Linked DNA regions of Homo sapiens: all the other regions are linked to region 1. Evidence: promoter capture Hi-C in 16 types of primary human blood cells and fetal thymus (Javierre and others, 2016). All regions are on one chromosome and are shown on one strand. Each heading gives the region's core, a stretch centred on a gene start or on the middle of the fragment in contact. The rest is flanking DNA. Distances are from core to core; before and after follow the strand shown.

Region 1 (2,524 bases), core at 13-2,512:
CCGACGCCGGAGCCACGGCCGCGGGCCTCATCCTACTCCGCCTCAGCGAGACGGCGGCAGCCAGAACGAGGCCGGCTCGGGCACTGCGTCATCGCGCCGTGCGTGCTCTGGTCCCGCCCCCGGCGCCAGGAGGCGAGGGCGGCTCCGGCGGCGCCCATCCCCCTCTCCACTAGCAGCTGTTCTCGGTGCTGCGTCAATTTTTGCTTCTCTCTGACTGCTTGGCTCCGTACCTGGCTCCGAAACCAATCTCCCGTCTCCCGCGCCTCCCCACATTCATTGCTCCTGCCCCGTCTAGGGCTCAGTTCTTACCTGTGCACTGCCTGACAGTCTTCTCACCACCCTCCGCCAAGCGGTCTATTTATATAAACCCATATCGGAATGGATCAGTCCCATGATTAAAATGTTAAAAGCTTCCCCTTTATCCCTTCACAATAAAGTCCTAGCTCGTTACTGAACCATCCCTGCCTGTCCAATCACGTCCTTATCCTTCCACATCACAGCCAGAGAGATTATTCTTCCAGTTGTATATCAGATTGTTCATTTCTTTCCAGTCCCAGCACCAAAGTCCAAGCCACCATCATCTCTCACCTTGGCTTCTGCAATAGACTCTCAGCTGTTCCTGAGTTCATCATTGCCCACATCCAATTCACTGTTGGCACAGTTGACAGAGTTATCTTTTTAAAATTTAAATCGGATCATGTCATTCTCCTGTTAAAACCTTCAGTGTCTCCTCAAGGCTGTCCTTAAGACAATCCTTAAATGGTTTACAAATCTGACTCCCTTTCAATCTCATTAGCAGCATTGTCACCTCCTTCACAAATTCTAAACTAGACTCTCTAAAATGCTTTTCGTTATCTGGAATACTATTGCCTCTGCCTGGGGCCTTTGTCCATATTGTTTCTCTCACAGAAACCCACTTCCCTCCACTCCCAACCTTTCTGCTTCTCATCAGGCTAATCATTATTCTCAGGAATCCTTCTGGATGCAACTTCATTTCCCCTGGGGAGACTCTCCTGACCCTCCAGTCTGGGTTAGTCGCATCCTGTGTGCTCTCAGACCCTGAGCTTTTCTCTGTCACAGCCTGATCAAGCTGAATCATCTGTCCCTCTGTGCAAGGCTGGCACACTGCCCAAGGTAGAGTATGCTCTCTCCTTGGTTGAATGAGCAGCTCAAACAACATATGCAAAAGAAGGAAGCAAGAAGGATGACAGTGCTCCTGATAGACGTTCATTCAACAGGTGGATCTTGACTGCCTTTCGTTTCATTCACCATTTACTGAAGTTGTGTGTGCGTGTGTATACCAGACCCCACGCTAAGGACTGGGGAAAAGGATGATCATACCTGGCTTGTTCCTGATAGAGCCCAGAGACCACCTGGGAAGACAAGTAATCAGGTGAGTCCTAAGCCCACACCCTGCCACGGACCCCAAGGTTTTTAGAGGAACTGAAAGACAGCAATTAGTTCATTTGAGTGAGGAACAGAAAGGATTCTTAGAGGTAGGGCTATATTAAACTCGAATGGGTCTGAACACTCTTACTCTGCAGTCCCTATTCTACGAAGTCACTATCTTATTTAAATGCACTCAAATTCCACATTAAATATCACCTTTTTGATATAAAATTTTTGAAAAGACTCATAATTTTGGGCCAGGCGTGGTGGCTTACGTCTGTAATCCCAGCAATTTGGGAGGTCAAGGCGGGTGGATCACTTGAGGTCAGGGATTCGAGAGTAGCCTGGCCAACATGGTGAAACCCCATCTCTACTAAAAATACAAAAACTAGCCAGGTGTGCTGGTGCACGCCTGTAGTCCCAGCTACTCGGGAGGGTGAGGCAGGAAAACCGCTTGAACCTGGGAGGTGGAAGTTGCAGCGCAGTGAGCCCAGATTGTGCCACTGCACTCTAGCGTGGGCGAGGGAGTGAGTAAGACTCAGTCTCAAAAAAAAAAGGAAGGAGAAAGAGAGAGAGAGAGAAGGGAGGCAGGAAGGAAGGAAAGAAGGAAGGGAGAGAAAGAGAAAGAGAAAAGAGAAAGAAAAGAAAGAAAGAAAGAAAAGAAAGAAAGAAAGAAAGAAAGAAAAAGAAAAAGAAAGGAAAGAAGGAAAGAAAGAACAAACTGACTCACAATTTTGGTTTTGGAATTGTTGAGCTTCCAAGAACTCATTTAATTTATGATTGGCTAAATTTACCAGAAATCAGAGGTACCCTGGAATTTTTACAAAGTGAGAAAATTTACCCCACAAATTATTGTCAAACCTAAAGAAATTTTTATTAATAATAATTTATACAATTATTTGACATAATATTTACACAGTGCTAGAATTTGTAGACATTGTTTGTTTGTTTTGGAGACAGGGTCTCACTCTGTCACCCAGGCTGGCTTGATCGAGGCTCACTGCAGCTTCAACCTCCTGGGCTCAGGTGATCCTCCTGCTTCAGGCCTCTCCAGTAACTAGAACTACAGATGCACACCACCATGCCTTGCATTTGTTTTTGTTTTTGGTAGAGACGAAGTCTTGCCATGTTGCCC
Region 2 (2,524 bases), core at 8-2,507, 320 kb after region 1:
ATCATAGCTGTTAATACCAGGTTCTGATATTTCTGTGAAATGTGGCTGAAAAAATAAGAGTTTGGCTGAGTCATCAGGAATCCATGGTCTCGTCCTTTGCTTTGCAGACTTAAATATTTGATTTTTTTCTGTCATCCATCAGTGTTAATGTTCTGGTAAATAGATTCAGAGTAACAGATATACAGGAGATTGATCTGTTGTGTGGAATATTAATTTACAAAGAGATAGACATTTTTACATTGACCACAGGACTTGTAATCATTATTCAGAGCATCTTCTTCCTGGTAGGATACCTGAAAAACCAATTTGGTCATCAGAACATGGATTGGTGAGCATGGAAACAGAACAAATTACCTGCATTGGTTTGGGGGATGGTTTACTCAGGCCATAGTAAGTCTAGGAAGTTCTTCCTGCTCTATTTCTGCTGTTTGGATATTCATCCATCAGTTCCATCAGTACTATTTTTTAGTATCTTTACGATATCTTTAGTCTTTTGGAAAGTAATAGACAAATTCTTTCCTTCTCATTTTTTCCCCCAATATAATGTGTACAGACTACTTCTGTTAGAAACTCATTAAGACATATATTATTGTCATTATTTTGATTGATAATTATCTGCTGTTGCTGACAGTTTACTCTTGATGAAATTTGAAAACAATTCAAGTCTTTGTAAAACTGTGATACAGATTCTCTTCCTTTTTTGATGTTAACATCTTGAAGAAATCTGCAAGGTCTCTAATGGATAGATTCAGCCCTTTGGTGTTGTGGCTTTAGATTCAGATTCTGGTTCTGCCACCAAGTAGCTGAGTAAGTTGCACATGCCACTTGATCTCTTTAAGCTTGTATTTTCTTATTGGTGTACCTTCTCTTGTACGGATGATGAGGCAATTATGAATTAATGTGTTTAAAATATCTGAGCAGTGCAAAAGAAATGTATTTGTATAAAGTCGATCCATTCATCCTTTTAACAAGTATTAATTGAACAATCTACTGTGTCCCAGGCAGTTTGCTATGTATTGGGTTATAACACTGACCATGATAGTCATAATCCCTGCACTCATGCCATGTATAGTACAGTGGGGAAGAGAGACACACAAACAGGCAATTATAAAACTGTGTAGTAAGTGCTATAATAAGTGACAGAGCATTTTTATAAGTGTTTTTAGAGGTGCTTTAAAAAATGCAGCACCAAAATGTTTAAGGCTTTTTAAGGCTTGAATGCCCCAATTCACTAACTGGCTGGTTCATTTCTGTTAGTTGAGTTGAATGTATGCATAACTTGTTATATGAAGGGAATGTTGTATGAAACATAGTTTATCAGAATTCAGTTTTGGTGTGGCTTCTACACTTCATCTTTTTTTTAAATTTAAGTTTTAACAAAAACTTTTAAAGAAAAGTTATTTAAGAAACTGAGAATGGGTAAGCAATTGATTGATATTTTCAAATACTAAACCGCTGTTTGACAAAATGTGCATGCACCTACACTGTGGCACTGGCATTTATAAGCATTTATAAACATGTGAGTAGATTGCATAGTGTAGAGTCATGTGGCAACTTCTTTTGGGAAACAGTAGAGAGACATGATTTTTCTGAGTACACACTGCCAATTCAAGCATCTGTGTAGGTTGTGATAACCAGAGTAATGATGTTAAAAAGAACAACACACTAAGCTTAGTAAGGTTTAGTATAATTCAATCATCTTTTTAACAACACTAAAACTTCTGCACTGAGTTAAAGTGGTTTTCTAAGAATACCACCACCTAGATGGGGCAGGTGGTGGGCAAGGCTCCTTTTCCACTATACTCGTGCTTCTCAAACTTTAATCAATGTAAGAATCACCCAAGATACTCTGTAAAATGTAGATTCTAGAATCCTACTTCTAGAAAGTCTGATTCAGTAGTCTGAGACAGAGTCTAAAAACCTGTATTTTAAACAAGCATCTCAGGTAAATCTGATGTAGGAAGGATGAGGACAACACCGTAAACACTTTAATACACCATTCCTGTCTCCTGTGCTTTCTGTAATAGTGACTTGTCTAGCGGCAGCTCAAGCCCTTCTCTCTCCATAATTTTGAAGTTGGTGGTATTTTTGAAATGATGTTGTTGTCACCATTGAAGCACTGACAATAATAGTGTGCTTCGTTGTGCGTCAGGTCCTCTAAATACTCTGCCTTTTTTTTTTTTTGAGATAGTGTCTTACCCTGCCACCTAGGCTAGAGTGCAGTGGTGAGATCTCGGCTCACTGTAACCTTGACCTCCCAGGCTCAAGCGTTTCTCCCACCTCAGACTCCTGAGTAGCTGGGACTACAGGGGCATGCCACCATGCCTGATTGATTTTTCTGTATGTTTTTTGTAGACATGGGGTTTCGTCATGTTGCCCAGGCTGGTCTTGAACTCTTGAGCTCAAGTGATCCACCGACCTTGGCCTCCCAAAGTGCTGGGATTACAGGCGTGAGGCACCATGCCTGGCCCAAGTACAAATTTTATGGCTATTTTACCCATTCATGGGAGAAATAGTTTTTTTG
Region 3 (2,524 bases), core at 17-2,516, 300 kb after region 1:
AAAGCCACAGGCGCGGAGCTGCCCAAGACCATGGGAACCCACCTTTTGCATCCGTGTGACCTGAATGTGAGACCTGGAGTCAAAGGAGATCATTTTGGCGCTTTAAAATTTAACTGCCCCGCTGGATTTCACACTTGAATGGGCCCTGTAACCCCTTTGTTTTGGCTAATTTCTCCCATGTAGAATGGCTGTGTTTACCCAATACCTGTACCCTCATTTTATCTGGGAAATAACTAGCTTGCTTTTGATTTTAGAGGCTCATAGGTGGAAGGGACTTGCCTTGTCTCAGATGAGACTTTGGACTGTGGACTTTTGGGTTAATGCTGAAATGAGTTACGGCTTTGGGGGACTATTGGGAAGGCATGATTGGTTTTGACATGTGAGGACATGAGATTTGGAGGGGCCATGGGTGGAATGATATGGTTGGCTGTGTCCCCATCCAAATCTCAACTTGAATTTTCGTCTCCCAGAATTGCCACATGTTGTGGGAGGGACCCGGGGGGAGGTAATTGAATCATGGGAGTCAGTCTTTCATGTGCTATTATTATTATTATTATTCCCAGAATTGCCACATGTTGTGGGAGGGACCTGGGGGGAGGTAATTGAATCATGGGAGTCAGTCTTTCATGTGCTATTATTATTATTATTATTATTATTATTATTATTATTATTTATTTATTTATTTTTGAGACAGAGTCTTGCTCTGTCACCCAGGCTGGAGTGCAGTGGCACGATCTCGGCTTACTTCAAGCTCTGCCTCCCTGGTTCACGCCATTCTGCTTCAGCCTCCTGAGTAGCTGGGACTACAGGCGCCTGCCTCTATGCCTGGCTAATTTTTTTGTTGTTGTTGTATTTTTAGTAGAGATGGGGTTTCACTGTGTTAGCTAGGATGGTCTCAACCTGCTGATCTCGTGATCCACCCGCCTCAGCCTCCTAAAGTGCTGGGATTACAGGTGTGAGTCACTGCGCCCACCCACGTGCTATTCTTGTGATAGTGAATAAGTCTCTTGAGATCTGATAGGTTTATCAGGGATTTCTGCTTTTGCTTCTTCCTCATTTTTCTCTCACTGCCACCATGTAAGAAGTGCCTTTCACCTCCTGTCATGATTCTGAGGCTTCCCCAGCTATGTGGAACTGTAAGTCCAATTAAACCTCTTTTTGTTTCCAGTTTTGGGTGTGTCTTTATCAGCAGCGTGAAAACAAACTAATACATATGCTCAACCCTAAAGAATGCAGATAAGAAAGTATAACAATAAGAAAGTATAAACAATGCAGATAAGAAACTATAACAATAAGAAAAACAATTGGAACAGATTGAAAACAAAATAAAAGAACCAAGATAGTAAACTGAGAACCAAGATAGTAAACTTACAGTAAACTACTGCCATATCAGTAATTACATTAAATGTAAATAGGGTAAATAGTAATCAAAAGGTAGAGACCATCAGGTTGGATGAAAATTAAATATTGATCTATATTTCGTATAAGAGAAGCATCTGGAATATAAAGATGCTTCTCTAGGTTGTAAATAAAAGGATGGACAAACAATATATCATGTAGACACTAATCATAACAAATCTGCTGTAATTAATTAATAATGTTAGACTAAGACTTCAAGTTAAGGAGTATTACTAAAAATAAAGAAGTTCTGGCACACAGTTTTTCTGCTTTCTAACCCTAGTTAAGTTATATTGCCTTCTTTAGTTTTCTTATTGTAAAATTGGGCTATTTGGTGCTTTACCTACTTTTTTTTCTTTTTTGAGACGGAGTCTTGCTGTCTCCCAGGCTGGAGTGCAGTGGCACGATCTCGGCTCATTGCAAGCTCCACCTCCCGAGTAGCTGGGACTACAGGCACCCGCCACCATGCCTGGCTAATTTTTTGTATTTTTAGTAGAGACGGGGTTTCACTGTGTTAGCCAGGATGGTCTCGATCTCCTGACCTCGTGATCCACCCGCCTTGGCCTCCCAAAGTGCTGGGATTACAGGCTTGAGCCACTGTGCCTGGCCACCTGCATTATTATTAATCCTTACAGCAGCTTTGCAAGATTGTTGTTATTACCATTGTATGAGTGAGAACACTGAGACTCAGAGAGGTTAATAACTAAAGTCACAGGGCTAGTTAAATGGTAAAACTGCATTTGAAGCTAGTTGTGCTTTGAGTCAGAGCTTTTTTTCCACTACACATTGTTTCCTGCCAATATACCTTCCTGAATAGTACTGTACCCTAAACTTTGCTGCTGTATAAACACACCTACTTGGAAGAACTCTCCTGAGGTCACCTGCTTAGCTCATTATGCCCTTTTGGAATCCATTCTTCTTTAAAACAAAAGAACCAAGATGTATTAAAATGTCATTAACAGGCTGTAATTGAGAATTTCCCACTTTGGCATTATGATTTTACTACTTATCAGTACATTTCAAAGATATCCCTCTCTTGAAATGCTTTGTTAACTACACCCCCAGATTACCCTAAATAAATGTTAATTTGCTAACATTTTGGTTAAGCTAAATGAAAAAAATGAGT
Region 4 (2,524 bases), core at 12-2,511, 290 kb after region 1:
TTATTGCAACACAGCCATACCCGTTCATTTACCTTTATCTGTGGTGGTTTTCTTGCTAGAGTGACAGAGATGAGTAGTTGAGACAGAGATTTTAATGGCCTTACAAGCCTAAAATATTTACTGTCTGGGCATTTAAGGTAAAGTTATTTCTCCGCTCCCCCCATGAAATCAGTACTTTTCTAGGTTTTAGTAAATTCAGAGGGCTGGAGTGTTTGAATGCCTGCTAGGTGGCAATATGTGGTTACACCTCCATAAGGGGCAGTTGTTAGAACATTGTACTTAGGTAGACTGGCTGTAGCTGTTGTCTTTTTGTTTTGTTTTAGGTTTTCTTAGCTGTGGTTCTTTGAGAAAGTCATTTGCCTTTTGTAGGCTTCATTTATTCAGTCTATAAAATGGTGATCTGGGACAGGTGTGGTGGCTCCCACCTGTATTCCCAGCACTTTGAGAAGAAGAGGCACGGGATCACTTGAGGCCAGGAGTTTGAGATCAGCTTGGGCAACATAACAAGATCGTGTCTCTACAAAAAAAAATAAATTTTTTTTTTTTAAATTAGCTGGGTGTGATAGCATGTGCTTGTAGTCCTAGCTACTCAGGAGGCTGAGGTAAGAGGATATGATTGCACCGCTGCACACCAGCCTGGGTGGGTGACAGAGAGACCCTGTCTCGAAAAAAAAAGAATGGTAATCTGTGTAGAGCTATATGTACCTGTAAGCAGAAGACTGGACTAGGTCAGGCCAAATAGAATCCAGAGAATCACTTGGCAGCCGTGGGACTGAGGACAATCAATTGTAATTCAGATAACTGACCTAGATTAGGGGTCAGAATATTACAGCCTGAGGGCCAAACCACCACCTTTTTTTGTAAATAAAGTCTTACTGGAATATAGTCGTGCACGTATGTTTACATGTTGTCTCTGGTTATTTTTGTCCTTAATAGCAGAGTTGAGTAGTTGACTGCATGTCCTGCAAAGCCTAAAATATTTACCCTGCTCCTTTTAGGAGAGTTTGCTGATCCTTGATCTAGATCAGTGGTTTTCAACCAAGGGTGATTTCTGTCCCCCAGGGGACATTGGGCAATGTCTGGAAACACTTTGGTTGTCACAGCTTCGGGCTGCTACTAGCATTTAGTGCACAGAAGCAAACGATGCTGCTACACATTCTATAATGCACAGGCATCGCCCGATAGTAAAGAATTTTCTGGCTCAAAATGTTGACAGTATTGGAGAATCCTGATTTAAACTAATGGTTCTCAAACTTTAGTTTGCATCAGAATAATTTGGAGGGCTTGTTAAACCACAGGTTGCTGGACCCCCACCTCAGAGTTTCTGACTCAGTGGGTCTGGTGTAGGGTCTGCAAATTTGCATGTTTTACCAGGTTTCCTGGTTATGCTGATGCTTCTGATCCAAGGACTACACTTGAGAATTGCTGAGCTAGATGACTTTTGAAATTCCGTCCATTCCTGTGATTCTTTGATTTTGTGATCTTAAGTACTGTTCCATTTCTGTGACTTAGCAAAACGTTTTATGACATGGTTTGGATGTTTGTCCCTTCCAAATCTTATATTGAAATGTGACCTCCAAAGTTGGAGGTGGGTCCTAGAGGTAGATATTGGATCATGGGGGTGGATCCCTCATAAATGGCTTAGCACCATCCCCTTGGTGATGAGTGAATTCTTGCTCAGTTAGTTCACGTGAGATCTGATTGTTTAAGAGTCTAGGGCCAAGTGTGGTGTCTCACACCTGTAATCTCAGCACTTTGGGAGGCCAAGGCCGGTGGATCACTTGAGGTCAGGAGTTTAAGACCAGCCTGGCCAACATGGTGAAACCCCATCTCTACTAAAAATACAGCTGGGTATGGTGGCGTGCACCTGTAGTCCCAGCTACTTGGGAGGCTGAGGCGTGAGAATCGCTTGAATCTGGGAGGCAGAGGTTGCAGTGAGCTGAAATCGCGTCACTGCACTCCAGCCTGGGCGACAGAGCAAGACTCTGCCTCAAAAAAAAAAAAAAAAGAAAAAGAAAAGAAAAAGAAATAAGAGTCTGAGATCTTCACCATTTTCTCTCTGTCTGGCTCCCTCTCTTGCCATGTGATAGTCTGGGTTGACTGTGAGAGGCTGTCTCCCGCTTTGCCTTACACCATGATTGTAAGCTCCTTGAGGCCCTCACCAGAAGCTAGCGGATGCTGGCACCATGCTTTCTGTATAGCTTGAGAACCATGAGCCAACAAACCTCTTTTCTGTATAAATTACCCAGCCTCAGATTTTTTTTATAGCAACACAAGAATGGACTAACAGAGTATATTTCAGTATACTGATGCTTGATGCTTAGGCTGTTTCATGACTTCACATTTTTGGATCCTTACTTTTCATGTTCCTTTGGAAAGTTTCTATTTCTCTTTCAAAAACCACCTCCTACCTTTTGCTTGTAACATTCATACCTTGTACCCAGTTAGGGTTAATAGTTTCTTTTCTATTTTGTACATCTCTCTTCTTTTGAGTCTTATGTTAGATTGTCAGTGATCAATTTAC

What was found. Contacts are between HindIII fragments. The CHiCAGO score rates a contact against its expected background, and 5 or more counts as called.
Region 2: a fragment that was not itself captured here is called in contact with the fragment with the promoter of LINC01562 in region 1 in 3 of 17 cell types (M1 macrophages, naive CD4 T cells and M2 macrophages); the score reaches 5.6 in M1 macrophages.
Region 3: a contact is called between a fragment that was not itself captured here and the fragment with the promoter of LINC01562 in region 1, in 5 of 17 cell types (naive CD8 T cells, naive CD4 T cells, total CD8 T cells and 2 more). The highest score is 8.8, in naive CD8 T cells.
Region 4: a fragment that was not itself captured here is called in contact with the fragment with the promoter of LINC01562 in region 1 in 2 of 17 cell types (naive CD8 T cells and naive CD4 T cells); the score reaches 6.0 in naive CD8 T cells.

What each region holds. Positions count from the first base shown.
Region 1 is chr1:51,233,834-51,236,357 of GRCh38, reverse strand. LINC01562 (long intergenic non-protein coding RNA 1562) reads left to right here and starts at 1,262. Exons shown (of 2, transcript NR_147076.1): 1 at 1,262-1,393. RNF11 (ring finger protein 11) reads right to left here and starts at 85. Exons shown (of 3, transcript NM_014372.5): 1 at 1-85. RefSeq lists a silencer at 1-300. The HindIII fragment of the contact is 11,293 bases long and covers 413-2,524 here.
Region 2 is chr1:50,911,697-50,914,220 of GRCh38, reverse strand. All of the region lies in intron 1 of FAF1 (Fas associated factor 1), which reads left to right. Among named protein-coding and RNA genes, the nearest start is that of FAF1, 47 kb to the left of the region's middle. The HindIII fragment of the contact is 831 bases long and covers 842-1,672 here.
Region 3 is chr1:50,930,037-50,932,560 of GRCh38, reverse strand. The region is part of intron 1 of FAF1 (Fas associated factor 1); the gene reads left to right. Among named protein-coding and RNA genes, the nearest start is that of FAF1, 29 kb to the left of the region's middle. The HindIII fragment of the contact is 7,482 bases long and covers 1-2,524 here.
Region 4 is chr1:50,948,019-50,950,542 of GRCh38, reverse strand. The region is part of intron 1 of FAF1 (Fas associated factor 1); the gene reads left to right. Among named protein-coding and RNA genes, the nearest start is that of FAF1, 11 kb to the left of the region's middle. The HindIII fragment of the contact is 4,104 bases long and covers 1-2,524 here.